Regions from separate parts of the Homo sapiens genome. Here regions 1 and 3 are each linked to region 2. The links are contacts of gene promoters, found by promoter capture Hi-C in human tissues and cell types (Jung and others, 2019). All regions are on one chromosome and are shown on one strand. Each heading gives the region's core, a stretch centred on a gene start or on the middle of the fragment in contact. The rest is flanking DNA. Distances are from core to core; before and after follow the strand shown.

Region 1 (4,686 bases), core at 1,926-4,425, 1.2 Mb after region 2:
GCCTCCCAAGTAGCTGGGATGCCTGGCTCGTACAACTTTTGACTCACAATTTCAATTCTAGGGAATTGGCCTAGAGAGATAGTTTGCTTAAGGACTATGGGCAAGCATTACTGGAAATAACAAAGCAACAAACTTAATCTAAATATGTATTGATACAAATCTGTTCATTGTATTAGGTCTAGCCATGCAATAAAGTTCTTGAAAGAAATGAGATAGCTATTTTTGGTGCCGAAAAAGACTTCAGAAAACCTCTGAAGTGAAAAAACAAAGCCGAAGTAATTATCACTGGCAGAGGAATAGACAGAGATTTCTCAACAGTGGCAGTATTGACATTTTGGACAGGATAATTCTTTGTTTGCGGATGGGAGCTCTCCTGTGCACTGTAAGATTTTTAGCAGCATCACTATCCCCTGCCCATTAGATGCCAGTAGCACCTTGCACCCCCACACCCCAGTGTGACAGCCAAAACTGTCCCTGGATATTGCCAAATCATGGTTGAGAACCATTGGGATAGACAAATAGATTAGTACTTAGCCTTATTTATAATTACATAGCCCAGAAACAGACACCAATGTATATATAGAAATAATGTGTTTCAGAGATAGAATTGAAGTACATTGAGGTAAATATGGACTGTTGAATTAATGATCATTTTGTTACACCTTTGGAAATAAATTATACTAGATGTCTACCTTATGTCAATATATAGACAGTCACTTCTAGGTTGAGCAGTGTAGTGAGACCCTGTCTCTGCAAAAATAAATATTTAAAATAATAGCCATACTTGGTGGTGGGTGCCTGTAGTCCTATCTTACTCAGGAGGCTGGGGTGAGAAGATCGCTTGGGCCTAGGAGTTCAAGGCTGCAAGTGAGCTATGATTGCATAACTGCACTCCAGCCTGGCTGGGTGACAGAGCAAGACCCTGTCTCTTAAAAAAAAAAAATAGTCATTTCTAAGTGTATTCTTACCTAGATGTATATGTAAATATGAAATGCAGAACTTTAAATTTTTAGAAAAAAATATGGAATATTTTATTTTTCCAATCTTAGATTAAGGAAGAAATCCTTAAAAATATATAAAAGCAAATACATAATGAAGATTGATAAACCGAATGATATTGAGGTTAAAAACCTATGTTAATCAAAAGATCGCACCACTGCACTCCAGCCTGGGCAACAGAGCGAGACTCCATCACTAAAAAAAAAAAAAAAAAAAAAAGGAAGTCAAATCTTGGGTAAGGGGGAACTACTGTACTTACATTTACCCATTTATTATAAAGGCAATTACAAAGGACACAGATGAATTAACCCGATGGAAGGAGATGTACAAGGTGAGACAAAGAAGGAGAGAAGAGGAGAAGGGGCGTGGAGCTTCAGTGTTCAGCTATCTGAGAGCTCACAGAACTCAGTCCTTTTGGGCTTCTATGGAAGTTCATTAAATAGGCAAGATTGATTAGATCACTAGTCATTGGTTTATGGACTCAAGTTTCAGCTTCTTTCTTCCCAGAAGTGGCGGCTGGGGGTAGGAATCAAAGTTATAACCCTTAATCACTGGGCTGATTCCCCTGGCTACCTAGCCCCCATCCTGAAGCTATCTAGGGGCCCCCAGGCACCAGTCATCTGATTATTGTACAAAACAGTCATCACTCCAGAGATTCCAAGGATTTTAGAAGCTATGTCAGAAAATGGGACAAAGACCAAATATTAATATTTTTTTTATGATATCACAGATGGGAAAGACAAACTAGAAAAACTTGCTTTAACTCTTCATTTAACACCTCTCTGTAGGGTTTGGCTTTTTAAAATCCATGTTCATATATTTTTGATAAAAGCATACTTATTATAAGTTTAGTTTAAAAGCAAAAGTTTAATTTTGTGTTAATACTTAGAATACCAGGTTTTTTTTCAACCTAAAATGAGAATCCAATAGAAATGTTTTCTTTATAATTTATCAAGTATACCAACAGATTAACAACATTTCAAGACACTTTGTTGTAAACTTCATTGCGGAAGGCTCCCTTGGGAGTAAGGTAGTAGTAACATTTATTTCTGTGCTTTTCCATATTTATTCTGTCAGGTATTGAAATGTTTTTCCACAGGTTGCTTTTTGTTTTAGAGGTATTTCGGGTACTTGGAGAATTGTAAATATTATGTTTTGTACCCTGATTTTTAGTCATAAGTTTCCAAAAGAGGGTAAGGGTATGAATAGACTTTACACATAAAAGAGTGAAACACTTTGTTATGTAACATGTATAGTAAGTTTTTATTTTTTCTTTTGTTTTTATTTGCCTGTTTTTGGTAATCCAAATTGAAAAGGCCTGAACTCTTTCATGAGTTGAGTTCATATATAGTTTCAAAGTTCCTGAATTGATTTGGATACCTGCCTCTTTTTGGCTACCTTGAAAACTCTAGTGAACTCTCTTAATCACTGGAGAATTGGACTGAGATCTCTGAGTTGTGATTTCAGTAAATTCTGTTCTCAAAATTTTTTATAAAGCAGCATTTATATACAGTCTTGATTACTTGTGCAAGTCACTTCCAAATCCTAATGAGAAACTGTCTCTGGACTTTTATATTTTCTTAGACCTACAGTTTAAATACCAAGAAAGGCTTTCATGTCTAATGTAAAAATGCAGTGAAACTTTGATATTATTCTGCAAAGGCCATGAGAAAGATGATTACTTTGGAGACTTGTTACTTAGGATATTGGTTTTTAAAATGAGAGCAGATTCTTCCCAAATTCCATAGGTAGGAACGTGACTATAAAAGGAAAATCTATGAACCCCATATACCTACAAACTTTGGGTAGGAATTAAAACAAACATATACTATTCTTGAAATGTTAACTCACTATTACATCTTGGGGGGTGTGATTTTAATCAGGATAGAGTATTGTCAGATTGTTACTTGCTGGGATACATCCAAATTTTGAGGTTGTAGTCTTACTACATTATTTGTCTATCTGATGCCTTCCCCTTTTTTTCTTTGATACATTTGCATAAAGCAAAATGGCACTTTTTCACTAGAAATGTTTCTAAAACCCAAATAATTTCTTCATTTGTGTGTAGTAAAAACAAGCTTCAGGAAAAAAGTTATTAGAATTTTAAAAATTAGTTATAAAATTATGGCAAAGCTCATGAATAGTTACTGAAGATTAATTTACTACTTTGTGAATAGCAAGTTGACAAAAATAATTTACAGTTCCTGCTTGACTTTCTCCCCTCTAAGTGGCATAAAGTAGAACTAGAGTTATTTTGTTTTGGTTTTGACCCAACTTAGAAGATTTGTTTTAAAGTTTCTGAAGTTTTGTCTCAGGAAAATAAGGTGGTTTTCCATGTAGAGAATGTAAGATTACATATGGCATCTGGTAGGCTGAATTAATTCCATTTTCTTGTTACCTTCCATGGAAGAAGTTTCTAATAAAAAAATCTTTTCAGGGCCGAGCGCAGTGGCTCACGCCTATAATCGCAGTAGTTTGGGAGGCCGAAGCGGGTGGATCACCTGAGGTCAGGAGTTTGAGACCAGCCTGACCAACGTGGAAAAACCCTGTCTCTACTGAAAATGCAAAATTAGCTGGGAGTGGTGGTACATACCTGTAATCCCAGCTTCTTGGGAGGCTGAAGCAGAAGAATCGCTTGAACCTGGGAGGCAGAGGTTGCAGTGAGCCAAGATCACGCCATTGCACTCCAGCCTGGGCAACAGGAGCGAAACTCCATTAAAAAAAATATAAAAAAAAATATATATATATATAATATATATATATTATTTAAATATATATATATTTAAAAATATATATATTAAAAATATATATATATATTTAAATATATATATATTTAAAAATATATCTATTAAAAATATATATATATTATTTAAATATATATATATTTAAAAATATATATATTAAAAATATATATATTTAAAAGAGCCTGTTCTGAGCTCACAACTCTTTGGGGGATTATTAGTGGCCCATTTTCTTGGGGAATCAGGTGGTTTGTATTTAGAGGTTTATATGTCTTCTACTTTATTGTGTCCTTTTGTTTTCCTTTTCACAGATGACTTGACATTTTGGCACAGAATACATTTTAAATCCCTGGACAGAGTCATCACTTAAATGAACTAGCCCTTGCTTATATGTGCAGTGGATTGTGAAATGCGTCTACTGTAATAATATGCAATGTCTTGATTACCTGCTGAAATAAGGTGGATAGATGGATTTTTATTTTATTTAATATTTATTTATTTATGTATTTTGAGACAGGGTCTCACTGTCACCCAGGCTGGCATGCAGTGGTGCGATCTCAGCTAACTGCAATGCCTCCCGGGTTCAAGCGATTCTCCCACCTCAACCCCCTGAGTAGCTGGGAGTACAGGCACGTGCTACCACCCTGGCATATTTTTATATTTTTGGTAGAGACAGGGTTTCACCATGTTGACATGGTCTTGAACTCCTGGCCTCAAGTGATCCACCCGCCTCAGCCTCCCAAAGTGCTGGGATTACCATTGTGAGCCACCACACCCAGCCAAGATGGATTTTTAATTTGGAGTTTGTCACTTTTTCTGTACTCCAGGGTATGGTTTCTCATTGTCTGAAACATAGATTTTATTTTTCAAGCAGGCTATATTTTGTGGTTGCCTTTAAAAACATCCAGATGTGACAGACATTTCCTAATGAATACTAATTGTACTT
Region 2 (4,939 bases), core at 1,106-3,605:
GTTTTCGGATTTAGCATATTTTCAAACCATCTGGCATTAATGCCTCTCTGGTTCACCCAGCCTAATCTGTTCAGAATTGAATATAAAACCAGAGCTACATGAACATTGAGGAAACCAAAGAACAGCACACGTGCATAAAATGTTCCAAATGTAAAGTTCTAAACTAGTTTCTATTTGAACTGTATCTTTAAAACATTTCCATTGAAGACGTTAAAGCTCTTTCGAAAATACAAGAATGGTTCAAGAAATCTCTATGAATCATCACTATCATCAGTTACCCAAGTATTACCCTTTCTCATTTTAATCCTGATTGTCAAATAAGGCGTCTGAAGAGGTACTTCAACAAAAAAGATTCATTGATAACTGAAATGCTATCATTTTATATCGAAAAGGTCCACGATTATACATTTTACTTTGTATAAAATTAGTCTGCTTAGCCTTAACATGCTTTGGGAAAGGAGAGAAAAGCTAAAAGGAAAAAAATATTCATGAAAGCCCTTTTTCTTTTATGTCCTGTTACCGCATTATTGTCATTGGCAGCACTCACATTTCTTTTGCTTAAAATCAGGAGTCAGAATTGCTACTTTAGAAATTAAAATAATCGATGGGTATACTAGGGCCAATTTCCCTGTTAAAACCAACTCCTGCTCACCTTCGCTCCCGACATAAAAACAAATGACTTTTTCAGAATAATTTTTCAGAAACGAAGATAATTAATGTAGCACCATATAACACAAATTAAAGCTTTCAGACAAAGACTGAGAAACAATGACCAACACCAGCAAATCTAAAGTGCTCTTATATATGTATACACACAACACACACACACACCCCAAACCAAATATTCACTGTTCCTGGGGGGAGACTGCTTCTTCCTCCCTAACCGTGAACCGCTGTATATTTTCCAATTTTGTGATTTTCCTTTTTCTGCTATCACATTAACCTCCAAGAGAACTGCTTAAGTTACATGGAATCCCAACCTAATCACATCACGACTTCTCTCTCAGCCTTTACATTTTTCTCTCAAATATTAGCTCTTCGCATTTTTTTTTTTTTCTAATAGCTGGGCTGAGTTGACAGAAAAGGGCTGTGGAATTCCTGCTCTGTCCGATATCTTCCCTGTATTCCTCTTTTCTCATCCCTAGTCTCTGTTCTAATTCCCCCGCCTGCTGTCTCTCATTGACGCCTTCCCAGCTGCTGGATCCTTCACTAACCTAAGCTAAGGATATCAAATGGAATCTTTTCCTTCTCAGGGGCTATGCTCTTTCCTTACAGTTACCCACGGAGGAGAGAGGACAGGAAAGGTACTAAAACAAAGAATTGCCAAGTCCCTTTACCTCCAACTTTGGTGTAAATATATAAGGAAAGGGGATCTGCCAGGGCTCTTCTTTCCTGCCCTTAGACCTTGTTCCTCTCACACCTCTCCTTCCCAGCCTTTTATACCCCTTGAGGTATTAGTAGATTGTTCACTGTGGGCCCTAAGGCTTGGAGGATTCCCATGGGTCAGCCCCCACACCCCCACGCCCCTACCATCCTCTTTAATTAACTTCTCCCTAAATCCCAGGGCTTCGTCACAATCGTAATATGGTTCTTAAGGACTCAACTCCCAGTCTTTCCCAAAGTTGGGACATGGCCTGGCCCCGAAACGGGTGCGCATAGCCTTCCTTGAACTGGAGGTAAAGACTTCTCCTGAAGGGTTTGCTGGGGCTCCAACCTCAGTCAGTGCGCTCAGCTCCAGCAAGAGAATCTCTCCTTACTCTCAGGGAGACTGGGTCCCCCACGAGGCAGCCACACGCCCCCGGAGGACAGCGCTCCTGACCTCCTCTAGGACTCCCAACATTACTGGGGTGCTCCCTCCGGCGGCGCCCTCCGCTGGGAATACGCAGTCTTCACTCCTCTCAACAATCCTAAGTTGCTGGGTCCTCACCAAGGCAGGGGGCTGAGATGTTCCCTCCAGAGAGCCCCCCGCCCCCAAGCTCTTTCGGTGGCGGAGACACCCAAAAAGAGCGAGGGAGGCTGTGGGTCTGTCTGTCCCTCTGCGGCGACTACCCAGCCGCGAGGCAGGCCCCGTCCCTCCCCCTCGGACGCCCCACGCCGGGTCCACCCCGCCACCCGCCGCCGCGAGCGGGCTCAGCCCCAGGGGTCTCTGCTGTGAGGCTGCCCTCCTCCCGCCAGGCCCCGCGCTACTCGCCTTTCCCGTGCCGGCCGCGGACTCTGCGCTCCAGTTCCCACCCGCAGCCCAGAGTCTCCGGGCCCGCTGGTCGCGGAGCCGGCTCGCGCCACTACCTGCAGGGGCCGCCGCGCCTCTCAGCGCCACGCCGCCGCCATCTTGCATTTCAAACCGGCTGCACTTTTCAGGGAGTCAACTCTGACCTGTGAACCCTAAACCCGGAACCGCTCGGCGGGCCCGCAAAGGGGCCTCAGCAGCTCGGTGGCCCCGCGGAGTGTGGGGACTCAGGGTGGGGGTGCGAGGAGAGGCGCGCGCCCCAGCGGCCGTCCGGGGGCGGAGGGGGAAGGGAGAGAGCCGGCCAAGGCGGGGCCCTCCCGCGCGCGCGTCCTCCGCGCGCCCCCACCCCGTGCGGCGCCGAGCTCTCCACGCCCAGACCCTGCTACTCCACTGGGGTCCGACCCCGGCCCCTAGTCCGGGGATTGGCGCACCGCGGGAGGTAGGGAGGCGCCCCGCCCCCCTGTCAACAGAAGCCCCGCCCCAGACTGCGGAAGCTCCGCCCCCTGTCAGGAGACGCCCCGCCTTCCCAGGGCTCGAAATGGCCCCGCCCTTTGCCTGCGACCGCTCCGCCCGCTGTGGACTGAAGCCTGGTCTTCTCTCGGGTCAGCACAGAAGGCAGCCCCGCCTTCCTTGCGCTCCGCCTTCCTAATGTCACTGCTGGATCGTGAGAGGTAAGCATGCTGGCTTCTACTGAAACGCCCCTTGTCATCACACGCCCATCCCCTGGGGCGACACGACCCAGGCCCCGCCCCTCGGGGGGCTGCTGCGAGTCCGGCCGGGAGCCCAGCGCCCTGACAGAAGTCGCCGCGCCCCTTGTCAGCGGCAGCTCCACCTCTCCTCGCTTCGGACCCCGCTCCTCCGCGGGCCGCAGCTCCACCCGCTGACACCGAAAGTTCAGTTCAGCTGCACTCAGAACCGCCGGGCAAGGCGGAGCCGCCCTCTGCCCCTCAGCCGCCCTCCTCCCTGCGAACCGCCACTCGCTCTTCCAGAGGCTTCTGTCCGAGTCGAGGGCTTCACATCCCGTCGGCTTTCAGGGAACCAGCCCCGCAGCGGGGCCAGCGAGGGCCAGGGGTTTCGGGAACACTGCCCGGCGTCTCCGCCCCTCCCTACTCACTTTCCCTTTCCCCCGCACCGCGGTCAGAACGTGGAGGAACAGAACCAAAGCGGAGAGCGGCGACTCACCCTCCAGCTGCTCCACACGCCGGGCCTTGGACGCTCGAGCGCTCCTGGGCCCCTTGACGTTCACTCCCCACCCCCATCCCAGTCGCGGACCCTTTGTGCAGAGCTCCGCTGAGCCACAGTAATCCTAAAAGCACAGCAGAGCTCCGCTGAGCCACATTAATCCTAAAAGATGCAATTGCTTCAAGTGGAAGTCTGATTTTTTTTTTTTTTTTGAGACGGAGTCTCGCGTTGTCGCTTAGGCTGAAGTGAAATGGCGCGATCTCTGCTCACTGCAACCTCTGCCTCCCGGGTTCAAGCGATTCTCCTGCCTCAGCCTCCCGAGTAGTTGGGATTACAGGGGCCCGTCACCTAACGCCGGGGTAATTTTTGTATTTTTGGTAGAGACAGGGTTTCGCCATGTTGGCCAGGCTGGTCTTGAACCCCTGAACTCAAGTGATCCGCCAGCCTCGGCCTCCCAAAGTATTGGGATTACAGGAGTGAGCCACCGCGCCTGGCCGTGGAATCTGATCGTTGAAATCAGTGTTCTACAATATTCTTTTTATTTGTAGGTTTCATCCTGGAATCCTAAAACTTGTGTAGGATAAGGCTTAATTTTATAAGCAAAGGTATTCAACCCTGCCACATTCAATGCCCTGTATTTACAACAAAAAATATAACACTGCTTTACTCTTCTGGAGTTAAATTCCTAATGCAAACTATCTCTACAAATAATTTCAAGAAACCAATGTAATGTTCTAATAAAGGTGAAAAAGGAGAAAGTAGTTCATAATAAAATACTGTATGTACTAATATCAAGAAAAATTTTAAAATAACAGAGTTTTCACAATGTAAATACTCTGCCACCAATAGAATGCAAAACAAAAACTGTCCCGGCAAAATTTCAGTATGCCCCTGAGGGGCAGTACTGCCCTCGCTGGGAACCTCTTTAGACCGAGGAAGAGGTCTGGAAATGCTTCAAATAGAGAAATTCATTCTTTTGTCTACACAGTTAATGACAAGTTTTCTTTTGTTGTTGTTGTTGTTGTTGTTTTTGAGACGGAGTCTCGCTCTGTTGCCCAGGCTGGAGTGAAATGGTGCGATTTCGGCTCACTGCAACCTCTGCCTCCTGGGTTCAAGTCATTCTTCTGCCTCAGCCTCTTGAGTAGGTGGGATTACAGGCGCGTGCCACCACACCCGGCTAATTTTTGTATTTTTAGTACAAACGGGGTTTCACCATGTTGGTCAGGCTGGTTGCGAACTCCTAACCTCGTGATCCGCCCTCCTTGGCCTCCCAAAGTTCTGGCATTACAGGTGTGAGCCACCACACCCGGCCGATGACTAGGTTTTGTGTGTGCCAGTATATGCCAGGCACTGTGGGAGATGTACAGCTGAGTTAGTCAACTTTCCTGTCTTCCAGGAACTTACAATCAAGTAGCCAAGCAAAAAACAGGAGCATAAAGATGTGTCAAGTGAAAGATGAGAAGAGACCCCTTTAGGGATGTGGAGCTGTTGACTGTAACTTCACATTTTACCCCCACTTCCTCCCTCACT
Region 3 (4,736 bases), core at 1,149-3,648, 1.2 Mb after region 2:
GTGGTGAGCCAAGATCGTGCTATTGCACTCCAGCCTGGGTGACAGAGCAAGGCTCTGTCTCAAAAAAAAAAAAAAAAAAAAAAGAAAAAGAAAAAAAGAAAAGAAATAAAGCAAATGGGCTGAGAGGTAGAGTCTGAAGGTTAGGATAAATACCACTAATAATCCCAACGGCATTAGTTAAAACTAAAACCCCTCTCAATTCTTAAGTACAGTTCCTACAGGATAAATTACAGAGTAAGTAAAAACAGGAAAAAATTACAGAGTTAGTACAAACAGGAAAAAAGTGCACAGTAATATTAACATTACAGCAATGCAGGATGCATACATATTACTAGTAGTATAGATGAGGCAGAGGTTGAACTTAGAGAATACGCATAAAACTGTCAACGTCAGGCCGCATGGGAATGCAAGTGCTTGGTGCTATTTCCTCTTTCCTTAGCAGGCATAGTGTAACTGTGATTTAATCTACCTGGATTACAGTTCTTTTGCTAGACACAGTCACTCACTGAGTCACTCTCCTGAAATTGCATATGAATATATGTATATCTGAGCATTTTTCTAAGGCAGGTTTCCAAAGGAGTCCATGATCGAAGAGACTAAAAATCATGGCTGGGCAAGGTGGCTCATGCCTGTAATCCTAGCACTTTGGGAGGCTGATGGGGGGAGGATCATGAGGTCAAGAGATCGAGACCATCCTGGCCAACATGGTGAAACCCCGTCTCTACTAAAAATACAAAAATTAGCTGGACGTGGTGGTGTGCACCTGTAGTCCCAGGTACTTGGGAGGCTGAGGCAGGAGAATTGCTTGAACCCAGGTGACGGAGGTTGCAGTGAGCTGAGATTGTGCCACTCCACTCCAGCCTGGTGACAGAGCGAGACTCCATCTCAAAAAAAAAAAAATCACTGCCATAGATATCGGAGGTATGTGGTTAGCAGATAGTATTTATGGGAAATGTCTCCAGAATAATGACTAAAATGGCTATATCAGAGAAGTGTTTAGTGCAGAATGCAAATTACAGAAAGGAGAATGACTCTCTAGATCAGAATAGTAGGTGAATACAGCGGACAAGAAATGAGAAAGGCAAACCTAAAACAAATGGTAAAATATTTCAAAACATAAAAATTAGTTTATATTTGCTCAAAATTTGGATGGAAGAACATTAAAGAACAGCTGACAGAAGAGACGAAGAATATCATGCACAGCATTAGGATGTGTAGAATTCAAGGGCCAGGCACAGTGGCTCACACCTGTAATCCCAACACTTTGGGAAGCCAGGGTGGGCAGATTGCTTGAGTTTAGGAGTTCGAGATCAGCCTAGGCAACATAGTAAAACTTCATCTCTACAAAATATACAAAAAAATTAGCTGGCCATGGTGGCACATGCCTGTAGTCCCAGCTACTTGGGAGGCTGAGGATGGCTTGATCCCGGGGAAGCAGAGGTTGCAGTGAGCTGAGATTGTGCCACTGCACTTCAGCCTGGATGACAGAGCCAGACCCTTTCTTAATAACCAAAAAAAAAAAAAAACAAAAAACACACACAAAAAACAAAAAAAATTTCACAGGGTTTTCTTGTGAATGGAATTCTGTACGCATTCTTGTACTTTGAACAAAGGAACTGTAATTAAAACTGATTTGTGTTTATGCCACACCTGGTCCATAAATTCAACAGTAAATTTACATGTCTTTCAAAGGATGGGAAAAGAAGCTCCTAATTCTATTGAATTCTATCTAATTCCTATGTTTTTCTTTGTTATTCCTTTTTAAAAAAAATTTAAATGTTGACATCTGAATTAGGGGCCATCCTTAATAACCAAGATGCTTTGTGTGTCACATAAATGTTAAGTATCCCTTATCCCAAGTGTGTGGGACCAAAAGTGTTTCATATTTCAGATTTTTTCAGATTTTGGAATATCTGCATATACATAAAAAGAAATCTTTGGGAAGGGACTCAAGTCTAAACATGAAATTCATTTATGTTTCACATACACCTTATACCACACCCTGAAGGTAAATATTTTAAATAATTTTGTGCGTGAAACAAAATTTGTGTACAATGAATAATCAGAAAGCAAAGGTGTCATTATCTCATGCCAGTGCTTAAAAAGGTTCAGATTTTGGAGCATTTTGTACTTGGGAGTATTTTGGATTTTTGGATTAGAGATGTTCAACCTGTATTAAAAATGACTATTTTATACTTACCACTCCCCCTACACACCGATCTCTATTTCTTTTCATTATGTCTGTGAATTAAAAACAAAGAACTTTTAGCAAATAGCTTGATTTCTACAAAATTCTTAAGTTCTGAATGAGACTTTGGTTTTAACTCACCCAAAAATTCAGCATGTGAGTTTCGACAATGAAGAAACATTGGTAATTTTGTTTGTTCTGACAGTTCAAACTGTTTTTCAAAATATCTGCATAATGCAAAAAAAAAAAATTCTCATTACAAATTGTATTTTAGCATGAGGAAGGTAATGATGTCAAAAGAGCTTTTAAATTAAAGGTATTTAATTCTCTAGAAATTACAGGACAAAAATCATGAATATTTAAAGCACATCAGGCTTATCAAAGGGCTTTTATAACTTACAACTTCTGGAAAGAAATACTTCATTTTCTGGGCTTACAAAATTATCTGGGCCCTTTAATTTTCAGAAAGTAACACCACTGGCCCCTTGCCACTGGGAGCACCATCAGTGGGAGTCAACTCACCAAGCGAGAAGCCCAGGAGAGCTTCATACTGCATGCTAATCTATTCCATTTTGCAACCAGTTTTTTATGTGCTGTTATAAAAGAAGTTATTGCCACTGGGCAAAATGAACAAGGTTTCCCTCAAAAATGAAATCTAAGTATTTGCTAAACAGCAAATAACTCAATTATGCTATTAAAAAAAGAAAATTACATGATAAAGTGGTAGCCCTGAATATCTTAAAGAGTACTTGATAAGAAGGTTTTTCCAAGTACCAGATACCATTGTCTCATTTGATCCTCAAAATAACCTGAGTATAAAAGCTGGTGTCAGAGAGGTGTAGTACTTTGTCCAAGATAACAATACCTGGCATGGCCAACTTGGAACAGAACTTCACTGCTCTAATTCCAAGTCCCAGCCTAAACGACAAAAACCTGTTACGTTTTCAAGAAGCTTCCTTCTGGTCCCGGAGTATAATGACAATATTCAGAGGATACAACGAATGTTCATTCTGTTTGTCTTTTCACTTCAACACAGTGCTCCCCCTTGTTCTCACAAATGGTAGGTTCAACTGAATCAGGATAACAGGTGGCTTATTATTTTCTTAAATGTGCTTACCTCTTCTAAGCACTTTAATTTGGGGAAACAATTTCTCTGTTTAACTTAAGCCTCTCTTGCTATATTTTTCTATATCATATTTCCTGATGTGCAGGACTATTTTACCCCCTTTGCTCTCTTGAAAATGCTAAATTTTAAAATTAGAAATAGAAATGTACTTCTTAAGAAGCAGTCTTCAGGCCGGGCGTGGTGGCTCACACCTGTAATGCCAGCACTTTGGGAGGCCAAGGCGGGTGGATCACTCAAGGGCAGGAGTTCAAGACCAGCCTGGCCAGCATGGTGAAACCTCGTCTCTACTAAATATACAAAAATTAGCCGGCATGTTGGCACATGCCTGTAATCCCAGCTATTCGGCAGGCATGAGAATCTCTTGAACCCAGGGTCAGAGGTTGCAGTGAGCTGAGATTGTACCACTGCACTCCAGCCTGGGTGAGAGAGCAACATTCTGTCTCAAAAAAAAAAAAAAAAATTAAAAATTAAAAAAATAGAAATAGTCTTCCTAAAATAGGTCGTCTATGTCTGTATTACCAAATGTTTGGGTTTTAAAATCTCCTTTTCAGATTCTGCTGGGTTAGAATAAGCAAAAATATTTTCCTTTCATTAACAAAGTGCTGAAATTTTGCAGTGTAGGAAATATTAACGACAACTTGGACAAAAAGAGATTTTGATAATATAACCAGTCACTATTTCCATAACCTCTAAAGTAAACCAAATGTCAGCAGTTAAGTGTGCACTAGTCATTATGTCAACTTTACTAATATATTTGGCTCTGACTACACACAGCAGGCGGTACTCTTCATTGTGTGCACTGCTCCACGCTGTACTGGTTATTTTTTCCACACACAATTCCATGGACCAAACCACATGACCAAGCTACAAATTCACAGTATCTAATGGTCGGATGGAAAATTAGCTTCCTATAGGAATGTAGGCAAAAGTACAGTTTATGAAAATAACAGAGGCCAGCTGGGTGTGTGGTTCAGGCCTGTAATCCCAGCACTTTGGGAGGCTGAGGTGGGTGGATTGCTTGAGCTCAGGAGTTCGAGACCAACCTGGGCAACATGGTGAAACCCCATCTCTACAAAAAATACAAGAATTAGCCAGGTGTGGTAGCATATGCCTACAGTCTCAGTTCTTGGGAGGCTGAGGTGGGAGGATTGCTTGAGCCTGGCGAGGTCAAGGCTGCGGTGAGCCATGATCACACCACTGCACTCCAGCTTGGATGACAGAGTGAGACCCTGTCTCAAAGAAAAAAGAAAAAGAAAATAACAGAAGCCCAAGCAATGGGCCCACAGAATTTTACATAATTCAAGAAAAGAAAGGTCCCTGAAGTCATGCTAGCTACGTATCATAAAGAAGCCATGTGGTAAAAAAAATTATTCCTAATGATACAAATTGAGGATAACTAGTACTGAACATCAAACGACTATT

Evidence for each region. Contacts are between HindIII fragments. The study calls those that stand out against the background at their distance.
Region 1: a fragment that was not itself captured here is called in contact with the fragment with the promoter of ZHX1 in region 2 in 1 of the 25 tissues and cell types used here (dorsolateral prefrontal cortex).
Region 3: a fragment that was not itself captured here is called in contact with the fragment with the promoter of ZHX1 in region 2 in 1 of the 25 tissues and cell types used here (dorsolateral prefrontal cortex).

What each region holds. Positions count from the first base shown.
Region 1 is chr8:124,479,209-124,483,894 of GRCh38, forward strand. All of the region lies in intron 1 of RNF139 (ring finger protein 139), which reads left to right. Among named protein-coding and RNA genes, the nearest start is that of RNF139, 6.7 kb to the left of the region's middle. The HindIII fragment of the contact is 4,535 bases long and covers 909-4,686 here.
Region 2 is chr8:123,271,931-123,276,869 of GRCh38, forward strand. It overlaps ZHX1 (zinc fingers and homeoboxes 1), which reads right to left and starts at 2,356. Exons shown (of 4, transcript NM_007222.5): 1 at 2,287-2,356. ZHX1-C8orf76 (ZHX1-C8orf76 readthrough) reads right to left here and starts at 2,356. Exons shown (of 6, transcript NM_001204180.2): 1 at 2,287-2,356. RefSeq lists silencers at 1,613-1,980, 2,017-2,216, 2,417-3,106 and an enhancer at 3,587-3,706. The HindIII fragment of the contact is 11,288 bases long and covers 344-4,939 here.
Region 3 is chr8:124,506,274-124,511,009 of GRCh38, forward strand. TATDN1 (TatD DNase domain containing 1) reads right to left here. Exons shown (of 12, transcript NM_032026.4): 7 at 2,330-2,415; 8 at 2,201-2,241. MIR6844 (microRNA 6844) reads right to left here and starts at 2,303; the gene lies at 2,242-2,303. The HindIII fragment of the contact is 3,251 bases long and covers 774-4,024 here.